Regions from separate parts of the Homo sapiens genome. Here region 1 is linked to region 2. Evidence: promoter capture Hi-C in human tissues and cell types (Jung and others, 2019). All regions are on one chromosome and are shown on one strand. The core of a region is centred on a gene start or on the middle of the fragment in contact, and the rest is flanking DNA. Distances in the headings are between cores, read along the strand shown.

Region 1 (5,319 bases), core at 2,467-4,966, 130 kb after region 2:
TCACAGGCATGCGCCCACACAGACACTAAAATATCAACGCCTCCTCCACTCTGGCTCCTTTCTTTTCTATGCCCACACACACACCGAGGCTGCTTCTCGCCCCTCAGACACCCCCTCACCCACTCGGAATCTCCAAGCCCCCTGCCCAGGCCCACCTCCATCCAGGTGAGCACAGGCCCGCAGTTGAGGTTACTGTCCACCAGTCCTGACAGTGTCTCCAGGTACTGCAGCAGCAGTGGCACCAGCATCTGGGGGCAGGTTGTCAGAGTGGGCCTCTGTGAGTGGACGTGAGAGAGCCCACTGCCCTCCCACACTGCCCTAGCTCGTCTCTGGGCTGAAGTTCATCCTGAACACATGGGTGCTGCTCAGCTGTTAGGTACTGAGATATGGGCATATGAATGAATAAGCAGGCTGGGCCAAGCTCTTGAGTACCCTGGTTGGCATGACCATGGTGACCCTCCCATGGGACCCCCTGGAACTCCCCATGATCCTAAAACTTAGCAAAGCTAAATGTAGCAGAAGCCTACTACGTTTCTAAGGCTTCTCCATTCATTCAGATTGGTTGGGACTTGGGCCATACCAGTATTTAAATATTTCTCTATCCCGCTGCCTTGATGATTTCACACTGTGGATGAGGACACACTCATGAGGCAGGGGCTGAGACAACAAGCAGGTTACCTGGGCAGCCCTGGCACCCTCGGGGGGCGGGGGAAGCTCCGGAAGGCAGGAGAACCTCCGGTCAAATATGCACCGGTGGAGGTGGGCATCCAGGGAACGAAAGTCATCGTAACTCCGGAGAACCGGCCAGGAACGGCCCTGTGGGAGCAGAGGGACAGAAGGGAGCAGGGGCCCCATGACACCGAGCTGAGGACTACAGTGGCCATTCTCTCAGGCTAGATGAGAGGCGGGATGGCCTCACCTGACAGGTCACCTGCACCCCGAACACCAGCTCATTCTCTCCAGAGAGGCTGGGCCCTTCACGGTCTGGAGACAGCAGGAGCTGCAGAGGGAAAGCAAGGCCCAGGTGGACTTTTGTCCCAGTCCTGACCTCCTGGGGATGGCACTATCTAGGGACGGGTTTGTGACTCCCTTCTGGACCTCCCCGAGGACAGGGCCTGGTGATGTCCTGGTCCCTGACATAGAGCAGATACCTAACAAAAGTTGTTGTTGAATGAATAAAAGAACAAATGGATGAATGAATGAGCAGCTCTCCCCATCTGCTGTGGCTCCTGCAACTTTTGCTACTGACTGCTCAGACGCGTGCAGCAGCCAGTCACAGGGATAAGTTTCAGAAGCAAAGCACCTGATATCGTTGCAAGGTTGGGTAGGATATTGTCTTCCCTCCTGGGTGCAAATGCAAAGCCCCCATACCTGAATGTGGCCAAAGTCAACGTTCTCGTAGTGGAAATGGGCGCAGTCAGCCAGCCGCGGGAAGGGGCCTCGAGGAGCTGAGAGCCTGGGAGACAGGGGATGCGTCACCAGCAGCTCCTTGAGTCTCCCCAGCTCCTAGCTGAGCCCTTTCCTCCCTCACCCTCACCTCTTCCCAGGCTTCCCCTTCACACTGGGCCCCCCAGCAGTGGGTAGAGGCTGCACCGAGCCCTCCCCTGGGCCATCCAGGCTGTCAGTGCTGCGTGCCTGTAGAGCAGAAAGAATCAGAGGCCCCCAGAGATGGGAGCAAAGAGACAACGAGAGCATTGTTATCTGGCAGCGCGGGTCCAGAGCCCCGGGCGCTCCACACACCGCCCTGAGCATGAAGCAGGATGGCAGGTCGGGGGAGGTGAGGGCTGGGCTGAGGACAGGACTGCTTCTTCGTGTGTGGTCTGGGGTGGGGGACTGGAGAAGCAGGGGCCAGACGTGAGGCGGGGCAACAGGATGGAGAGCATGCTGGTCCCATCTCTCCCTGCTGAAAACCCTTCCGTAGCCCCTGCAGAGTACAGTGATCTCCTACCACTGTCTAGACAATCACAACTCCCATCTCATCAGCCTTCCTGCTTCCAGCCTCTCCCCTCCTGCCAGCTTTTCCGCAATAGCCTGGATCGTTTTCAGAAAACACAAATCTGGCTCTATTTCTCCATAGATCCTGGGCCTTCAATGACTCCCTGTTGTCTTCAAGACGAAGTCTGAATTCTCTGGTCTGATAATCGAGACTTCCCTGAGCTGATTTCTGTTTACCTCTCCAGTCCCATCTCTTCCCATTGCCCCCACTCTCAGAGCTCTTGAACTTCTAAGAGTCCAAAAAAAGCACCCTCTTCTCATTTCCTTCTAGGCCTTTGCAAAGGCTGTTCCCTCAGCCTGGAACACTCGCCCCACCTTTCCCTGGGTACATTCATCCTCACTCCCACCCCTCAGGTCCCAACTCACATGTGCCCTCCTCCAGGAAGTTCTCCCTGACCCTTCAGGCTGCACCTGGCATCTCCTCTGGACTCTCTCCATCCCCTGAGGTTCCCCCATCCCAGGTTCCATGCCTTGACCAGAGCTTCTCCCTTCACAGCTCTGATCACTCTGAGATGGCACTGGTGGTGACAAGTTCATCTCTCTCATTGGACTATGACCGGCCTCCCAGAAGGAGGGCCCCAGACTGAGCTCCCCAGCATAGAGCTGGGCATTGAGTTGGTGTTCAGACATGATTGTTCCTGATTCTTTTCTGGGTCCCCAGTGCCAGCCCAGTCGCGCGCAGCAGGGACTGGGTAAAATCTGATGAATAAATTAACCAGCTGCCAGACAGATTCACTGGGCTGTAGCGTCTCCCTGCTCCATGTCCCTGCAACCCCCAGTCACCCTCAGGGTCTCACCCTCAGGGTCTGTCCCCCTCCAGCCCATAAGGTTCCCCAAGGCAGGATGGGAGCTGACTCTCTCTGTGCCTGGAGCGTGGGGCCTGCACAGAGGCGGTCTCAGTGAATGTCTGCTAAGTGAGGGAATGAATGGATGAATGAGCGGGAGCAGCATGGTGGGAGAGGGAAATGGTGGGGGAGGGGGATGAGGACAAGGAGATGGAGCAGACCCGAGGATCAAGGGAGGTACAGTGCTGGCCTGTTGGGGTGGAGTAAGGAAGGAGTGGCTGGAGAGACGAGGCAAAGGCTCAGACTGATGCGGGGCGGGGGGGATTGAGAGGAACTGGGATAGGGTGAAAATGAGGGAGAAGGAGAAGAAAAGGGTCAGGCTGGGGATGGAGCGGGTGGGGGGTGGGGCTCGGGAATGAGAAAGGGGCTGTGGGGAGGAGGAGGGGGCTCCGCCGGGGAGGGCTGAGGGCTGGCAGAAGGATGCCGAGGAAGGTGCTGGGATGGGAGCTGGGGAAGGACCCAGGAGCCTCAGGAGGCCCCTGCAGGGGCCACTTGGGTGGCGCGGGTCCCTTCCTGGACTAGCCCCGCCTCCTCCCAGCCCAGGCCCTAGGTCCCTGTCACCCCATCCAGGGCGTGGAAGACGGGGATGCGCGCTTAGGGGGCGGGGTCGAGGTACGGGCTGGGACCCGGGATGGGGCCGCAGGACGGGAGGGACCACGGCTGAAGCACAGGCCGCGGGATCGGGCGGGGCCGGGGGCGGGGCGCGCGGGGCGGGGCTGCGCACGGACAGACTGACATCCGGACGGACAGGCTGACGGCCGCGTGGGACCCTTACCACCATGGTCGCGTAGCCTCCTCAGGCCCCGGCCGCGCTCGACCCCTCGCTCGCCGTTCTCGTCGCCGCTGCCGCCGCCATGGCGACACAAAGGGGAGGGCGCGAGCCGCGCGCGGGCGGCTGCAGACCCCGCCCCTAACGGCTGCCCGTGGCTCCGGCGCGCGCCCCACGGGGGCGGGGGGCAGCGGGAACGCGGCGCTGCTTCTCATTGGCTCCGCCCTTGGCCTTAGGCCGATGCCCCGCCCACCCGGAGGCTTCTCATTGGTTTCACCTTGGGCTCCGCCCCGGCTCTGTGTCCTCGGTCCCGCCCCTCGAAGTTTGACAGCGCCACGCCCATGACTGCTTTTCATTGGCTGTCATCGCCCTCCTGAGACAAGCCCCCAGGTTCTTTATGCTTTGCTTCCGACACTTCCAACACCAAGCAATGGACCCTACCTTTCGTCCACTCCCAGTGTCCATTCTTCTGACTTTTTTATTTTTATTTCTTTAAGAGACAGGGTCTCACTCTGTCGCCCAGGCTGGAGCGCAGTCCTGCAATCGTGGCTTACTGCAGCCTCAACCTCCTGGGCTCAAGCGATACCTCCCATGTAGCTGGGACTACAGGCGTGCGCTACCACGCCTGGCTAATTTTTTTTAGACATGGGGGTCTCACTATGTTACCCAGGATGGTCTTGATCTCTGGGGCTCAAGAGATACTCCCTCCTCAGCCTCCTTTCAAAGCGCTGGGATGACAGGCGTGAGCCACCACGCCAGCCAGCCCCTGATAGTCTTAATTGGATTCTCCCACGGCCTCAGAGCAGTGCCCAGTTCCTTAAGCAGCTTTTCAAAGTCCCAGTCCCAAGTCTCACCTTTTCAGTCCTGATCCCGACCCCGCTCACATAATGCCGAGGACGCTCCGCCCATGGACGTTTCTCGTTGCCTCATATACCTTGCCTAGGACGTAACCCGAGGCTTTCTGCGATTTGGCCTCCCCTGCCCACTGGACATTTTCTTGTTTCCCCTTCTACTGCTTATTACGGGCCAATCTCCAGCCTTGATTTTTTTTTTCTAGGAAAATGCTTAGGGGGAAATGCCAGATCATGCTTATGCCCCCCATAAAGCCATTCCCAATGGAGCCTGCTAATACTGAGCATGCCCAGATAACACTGTAATAACGCCCTTCACAGGAGGGTCTCTCCTTAGTCATGCCCTCAACAAATTCTCATCTCAGAGGGTCTTGGTCTGTTCATTCATTCATTCATTCATTCATTCACTCAAACTCTAATCAATTTGTACATACATCAACAACCAAACCAGGAGAAAATATACCCTGCCCACATTGGAGCTCAAAAGCTACTGGGAGAAGACAATGAACAAAATTAACATTAAACAAAATATAGAATATTAGGCCAGGCGTGGTGGCTCACGCCTGTAATCCCAACACTTTGGGAGGCCGAGGCGGGCAGATCACTTGAGGTCAGGAGTTCGACACCAGCATGGCCAGCATGGAGAAACCCCGTCTCTACTAAAAATACAAAAATTAGCCAGGTGTGGCGGCGGGCGTGCCTGTAATCCCAGCTACCTGGGAGGCTGAGGCAAGACAATGGGTTGAACCCAGGTGGCAGAGTTTGCTGTGAGCCGAGATCGCGCCACTGCACTCCAGCTTAGGTGTTGAAGTGAGACTCTGTCTCAAAAAAAAAAAAAAAAAAAAAAAAAAAAAGCTGG
Region 2 (5,759 bases), core at 3,100-5,599:
ACCATGCCCAGCCTATTTTTAAAAATATAATTAGAGCTGGGCACGGTGGCTCACGCCTGTAATCCCAGCACTTTGCGAGGCGGAGGCAGGTGGATCACCTGAGGTTGCGAGTTCGAGACCAGCCTGACCAACATGGAGAAACCCCATCTCTACTAAAAATACAAAATTAGCCAAGCATGGTGGCGTATGCCTGTAATCCCAGCTACTCGGCAGGCTGAGGCAGGAGAATTGCTTGAACCCGGGAGGTGGAGGTTGCAGTGAGCGGAGATCGCGCCACTGCACTCCAGCCTGGGCGACAAGAGCAAAACTCCATCTCAAAAAAAAAAAAAAGAATTAGAGACAGGGTCTCGTTATGTTGCCCAGGCTGGTTTTGAACTCCTGGCCTCAAGCGATCCTTCTGCCTTGGCCTCTATTCATCTGATGTTTTACAAAGCTTCCAGCTGCTTTGAGGAGGACAGGCTGTGGAGGGGCCAGTGTGGAAGCTGGGAGAGTGGGGAGGGACTGTAGCTTCCACAGAAGTGAGCTGGTCACAGGCCAACACACTACCTGGTTTCTGGGAAAGTCAGCGTTGGCTTCCCCAACTCTTGGCCTGCTGCCCAGAGAGGGTGAGACACTCACCTCTTGATCTTGTGTGGAGGCCCTCAGCTCAGCTTCCAGGAGTCTGGCAGTGTCTTGGGGCAGCGCCTTGTTGCTGGGTGCCCTGAATCTCAGCTTCTTCCTTCATCCAAAGAGGGAGGGTTTTTTTGTTTTGTTTTGTTTTGTTTATTTTGAGACGGAGTCTTGCTCTGTTGCCCAGGCTTGAGTGCAGTGGTGCGATCTCGGCTCACTGCAACCTCTGCCTCCCAGGTTCAAGCGATTCTCCTGCCTTAGCCTCCTGAGTAGCTGGGATTACAGATGTGTACCACCACGCCTGGCTAATTTTTGTATTTTTTAGCAGGGACGGGGTTTCACCATGTTGGCCAGGATGGTCTCAAACTCCTGACCTCAAGTGATCCACCCGCCTCAGTCTCCCAAAGTGGTGGGATTACAGGTGTGAGCCACTATGCCTGGCCAAAGAGAGTGTTTTATCCGTCCTCTAGCCCAGAGGCCAGCCCAGACCTGCCACCTGTGGTCTGCATCAGCACAGTTGTATTGGTTGCTAAAATGTTGAAACATTCCACTTCTGGTTAGTAAAGAGCCCACATAGCCCACAGATGTCTGCTACCACCCGAGTCCATTCTTTGGGGACCCCTTGGACTTTCCCACATCTCAGCAACTAAAGGTGGCGCTCTAGGACCCTGATTCCAGCCCCTATGGCCACATCCGTATGACTGGATGGTGCTTGGGGAATATCTTCTGGGGACAGCCCAGGCCTGGCTGAAGTGGGGAGGATGAGACTAGGAGGCTGATGCTGAAGGACTGAGGGAGGATTTTTTTTTTTTTTCTGAGTCAAAGTCTCACTCTTGTCATCCAGGCTGGAGTGCAATGGCATGATCTTGGCTCACTGCAACCTCTGCCTCCCAGGTTCAAGCGATTCTCCTGCCTCAGCCTCCCAAGTAGCTGGTATTACAGGCGCCTGCCACCATGTCTGGCTAGTTTTTGTATTTTTAGTAGAGACAGGGTTTCACCATGTTGGCCAGGCTGGTCTCAAACTCCTGACCTCAGGTGATCCACCCTCCTTGGCCTCCTAAAGTCCCAAAATCCAAAATCACGCCTGGGATTACAGGTGTGAGCCACTGCACCTGGCTGAGGGAGGATTTTTATCAAGCTAAGCTGAGAACTCGAGACTGGACATACTAATTTTTAGCATGGAACATATCCAAGTCACACGGTACCGAAGTATGTTCGCAGCAGTGAATCCATAGGGGTCTGCAGCAACCTCAATCCTTGCCTCCTCAAAAAAGAATTTGACCAAGGGACATAAGGCAGAGTGAGAAACCAAGGTAAGTTTTAGAGCAGGAGTGAAAGTTTATTATTATTATTATTATTATTATTATTATTATTATTATTATTATTATTTTGAGACTGAGTTTCGCTTTTGTTGCCCAGGCTGGAGTGCAATGGCGCAATCTCTGCTCACTGCAACCTCTGCCTCCTGGGTTCAAGCGATTCTCCTGCCTCAGGCTCCTGAGTAGCTGGAATTACAGGCACGCGCCACCACGCCAGGCTAATTTTGTATTTTTTAGTAAAGACCGAGTTTCTCCATATTGGTCAGGCTGGTCTCGAACTGCCGACCTCAGGGGATCCGCCCACCTCGGTCTTCCAAAGTGTTGGATTACAGGCGTGATCCACCGCGCTTGGCCCTTTATTATTATTATCATTATTTTGAGACAGAGTCTTGCTGTGTCGCCCAGGCTGGAGTGCAGTGGCGCGATCTCAGCTCACTGTAACCTCCACCTTCCAGGTTCAAGGTATTGTCTTGCCTCAGCCTTCTGAGTAGCTGGGACTACAGGTGCCCACCACCATGCCCAGGTAATTTTTTGTATTTTTAGTAGAGACCGGGTTTCACCATGTTGGCCAGGATGGTCTCGATCTCCTGACCTCGTGATCCGCCCGCCTCAGCCTCCCAAAGTGCTGGGATTACAGGCATAAGCCACCGTGCCCAGCCTAATTTTTAGTAGAGATGGGGTTTCACCATGCTGGCCGGGCTGGTCTTGAACTCAACCAGGCATTATTCTAATAGACCTCACAATATCCTCACAAATATCCCAGCAGCCTGGCCTCCCTGCTCCAGTCCCTGCCTCCACAGTCTGCTCCCCACCTGCGGCCGGAGGGAACCTGTGAACCCCTGAGTCAGGTCAGGGCCCTCCTGGCTCAGAGCCCTGCTCTGGTCTCTGACTGCCCCCTCGCCCACTCTGCTCCAACACATTGGGTGGCCTGGTGTGCCCGGGAGGACCTACAGGGTCTGTTCCCTCCATGCTCGCTCTAGACACAATGGGAGAGGCTTGGGTTTTTAAGGGAGGGGACTCAGCCAGGCCTGAACAGTGGTGACCGTGGGCTGAGCTGGGACCTGACCCTCCTCCAGGCTCCAAATCTCCTCTCCTCCCTTCCCCCACAGGCCACTGGGCATCTGCCCTGTGACCAGAATCCAGTTTCCCCTTTTTTCTCCTAAGCCCAGGCCCAAGGAGCGGTGGGTGTGACGTGTGGATGGGGGAGGGGGGCTTCCTGCAGCTGTCTCATCCTCCAGCACCCTAACCTCAGGTTCCTCCTTCCCCAGCCCCAGGCTCCAGCTGGGGGCTAGAAGTCCCCGTCTCCTTGGGGTGGCCTCCCTTGGGCCTTGCTCCCAGCCACTTCCTCATTCAGCAGGAGAGCCAGCCACCTGCCTCTCCCCAAGCCGCCAGCCGTGCCTCTGTGTCTGTGCCACTGCCTTACTCTCACCTTTCTCAGCTTTGCCGCTGTTTTCTCCTTCCCCATCTTTCATCTTTGTTTTTCCCCCTGACTCTTCCCTAGTCAAAAACCTGATTTTGGGTCTTGGGTTCCATTTCCACCTTGATTTGCTGTGCAGCCTTAGGCAAGCGTCTCTACCTCTCTGAACAATGGGGATGATAAGAGCATGTGCCCTAGAAGGGCATTGCGGGGACTGAATGATTTAACGCTTGGGACAGAGTGCCTGCATGTCATTAGTGCCCACATGCTGCTGGCTCTTTTAATATCCTTTAAACAGCACAAGTTTCTGATGATTAAATAATCATCATCATAGCTGATGCTTTTAAAAAGCTGACAAGGGTCAGACCCTGGTCTAGGAACTTTAATTCATTTAATCCCCACAACTCTAAAAAGTAGGTCCCATTTTACTCCCAATTTTACAGATGAAGAAACTGAGGTTGGAGCTGGGTGCGGTGGCTCACACTTGCAATCCTAGCACTTCGGGAGGCCAAGGTGGGTGGATCACCTGAGGTCAGGAGTTTGAGACCAGCTGGCCAACATGGTGAAACCCTGTCTCTACTAAAAAAAAAAGAAAAAAAAATACAAAAAATTAGCCGGGCATGGTGGCAGGCGCCTATAATCCCAGCTACTTGGGAGGCTGAGGCAGGAGAATCACTTGAACCCGGGAGGCAGAGGTTGCAGTGAGCCGAGACCGTGCCATTGCACTCAAGGTTGACCAGCCAGGAAGAGGCAGAGCTGGTTTCAATCAGCCAGAGGAAGGTCATGACACTGACCCTCCTGTTAAAACGATGTCTGACCCCTGACTGGGGACGGAGGTGAAGTTTGTGCTTCACGTACCCTTTGCCCTTCACGTCTAGTTGCTGGGGGCCTGTGGCATGGCCCCTGGGTGTCTGGGCCTGATTCTTTCTTGGGTTTTGTTTCTGTCTCTCCTCCCCTGTCTCCTCCTCCCTTCTGCCACCACCCGCCTCAGACTTCCTCCTTCACTTGCCTGGACGCTGCGCCACATCCCACCGGCCCTTACACTGTGGTGTCCAGCAGCATCCGGCTTCATGGGGGGACTTGAACCCTGCAGCAGGCTCCTGCTCCTGCCTCTCCTGCTGGCTGTAAGTGGTGAGTTAGGGGCTTCCGTGGCTGCCTCCCGGGTCCCTGGGCTCAGCTTGGGGCAGGGCAGGGAGTGGGGTGGAACGAGAGAACCAAAAGTGGGTGTTGGGATGGGAGCAGGTCCCCAACCTCCCAAAGCCTGTGGGTTTCTCCCAGAGCCCAAGCCCCCAAGTTTTGTCGTCCGCTACAAGCAGGGGAGAAGAGACATCTAAGTGTGTTGCCACAGGACAAGTTGTGCAGAAGTAACGCACATAGTCCGGTGGCCCAGACGCCAGCCCCCTGAGTCCCGCCAGACACGCTCTCCCCCTTGCTAACCTCTTGGCTGTCAGGATCCACCTTCCCTGGCTTCTAAACTTGCCTCCCCCACCCCCGTCATAACTCTGTGCCTCAGTTTACCTTCTTTTTCCTCCTCAGGTCTCCGTCCTGTCCAGGCCCAGGCCCAGAGCGGTAGGCCTAGACCCAGCAGTCCCTCTCTCTACCTCCCAGAGACCTCCCTGTCTCCGTCTCTCCCACACCCTTTCCAAACCTCCCTGCCGCTGACCCCCCTCCCCACAGTTCCCAGCACACACTGACCTCCCCTGACCCCTGTGCTGCAGATTGCAGTTGCTCTACGGTGAGCCCGGGCGTGCTGGCAGGGATCGTGATGGGAGACCTGGTGCTGACAGTGCTCATTGCCCTGGCCGTGTACTTCCTGGGCCGGCTGGTCCCTCGGGGGCGAGGGGCTGCGGAGGGTGAGTGGGGCTAGCAGGGGACATCCTGAGGACTTGCCTAGATGGGGGTGGGGGGCTGGGTAAACTCCCAGATCTCAAACATCCAAAGGGATGGTAATGGAGGTGCTGATTTGGAATGACAAAACACCCTCAACTCACCACTCTGCCTGTCTCTGCACCCCACAACACCCCTCACCTCCAGCAGCGACCCGGAAACAGCGTATCACTGAGACCGAGTCGCCTTATCAGGTGAGAAAACCAGACTGTCCTCCTCACATTTCACTCCTGCCAGGGATATCTGCCCCAGATACTCCTTCATGCCATCAGAGGGACCTCAAAGCCACTCTGCCTAAAGCACCCCCAAACCTTGAAGGCACATGGGACATCTGTCCAAAACTGGGCCGAATGATCAACCACAAGCTTATGGTCAGCTTAAAATGTGTGAAGAGGGGCTGGGCACGGTGACTCAAACCTGTAATCCCAGCACTTTGGGAGACAGAGGCGGGTGGATCACTTGAGGTCAGGAGTTCGAGACCAACATGGTGAAACCCTGTCTCTACTAAAAATACAAAATTAGCTGGG

The links. Contacts are between HindIII fragments. The study calls those that stand out against the background at their distance.
Region 1: a contact is called between the fragment with the promoter of ARHGAP33 here and the fragment with the promoter of TYROBP in region 2, in 1 of the 25 tissues and cell types used here (adrenal gland).

The regions. Positions count from the first base shown.
Region 1 is chr19:35,773,961-35,779,279 of GRCh38, reverse strand. It overlaps ARHGAP33 (Rho GTPase activating protein 33), which reads right to left and starts at 3,716. Exons shown (of 21, transcript NM_001366178.1): 1 at 3,616-3,716; 2 at 1,538-1,635; 3 at 1,372-1,456; 4 at 920-1,000; 5 at 679-816; 6 at 156-248. The coding sequence starts at 3,621. RefSeq lists enhancers at 373-1,257, 1,258-2,143, 4,165-4,224 and a silencer at 3,455-3,934. The HindIII fragment of the contact is 39,613 bases long and covers 1-5,319 here.
Region 2 is chr19:35,906,885-35,912,643 of GRCh38, reverse strand. TYROBP (transmembrane immune signaling adaptor TYROBP) reads left to right here and starts at 4,349. Exons shown (of 5, transcript NM_003332.4): 1 at 4,349-4,476; 2 at 4,882-4,914; 3 at 5,064-5,198; 4 at 5,380-5,426. The coding sequence starts at 4,416. RefSeq lists enhancers at 2,833-2,942, 3,043-3,092, 3,243-3,372 and a silencer at 5,184-5,337. The HindIII fragment of the contact is 6,909 bases long and covers 167-5,759 here.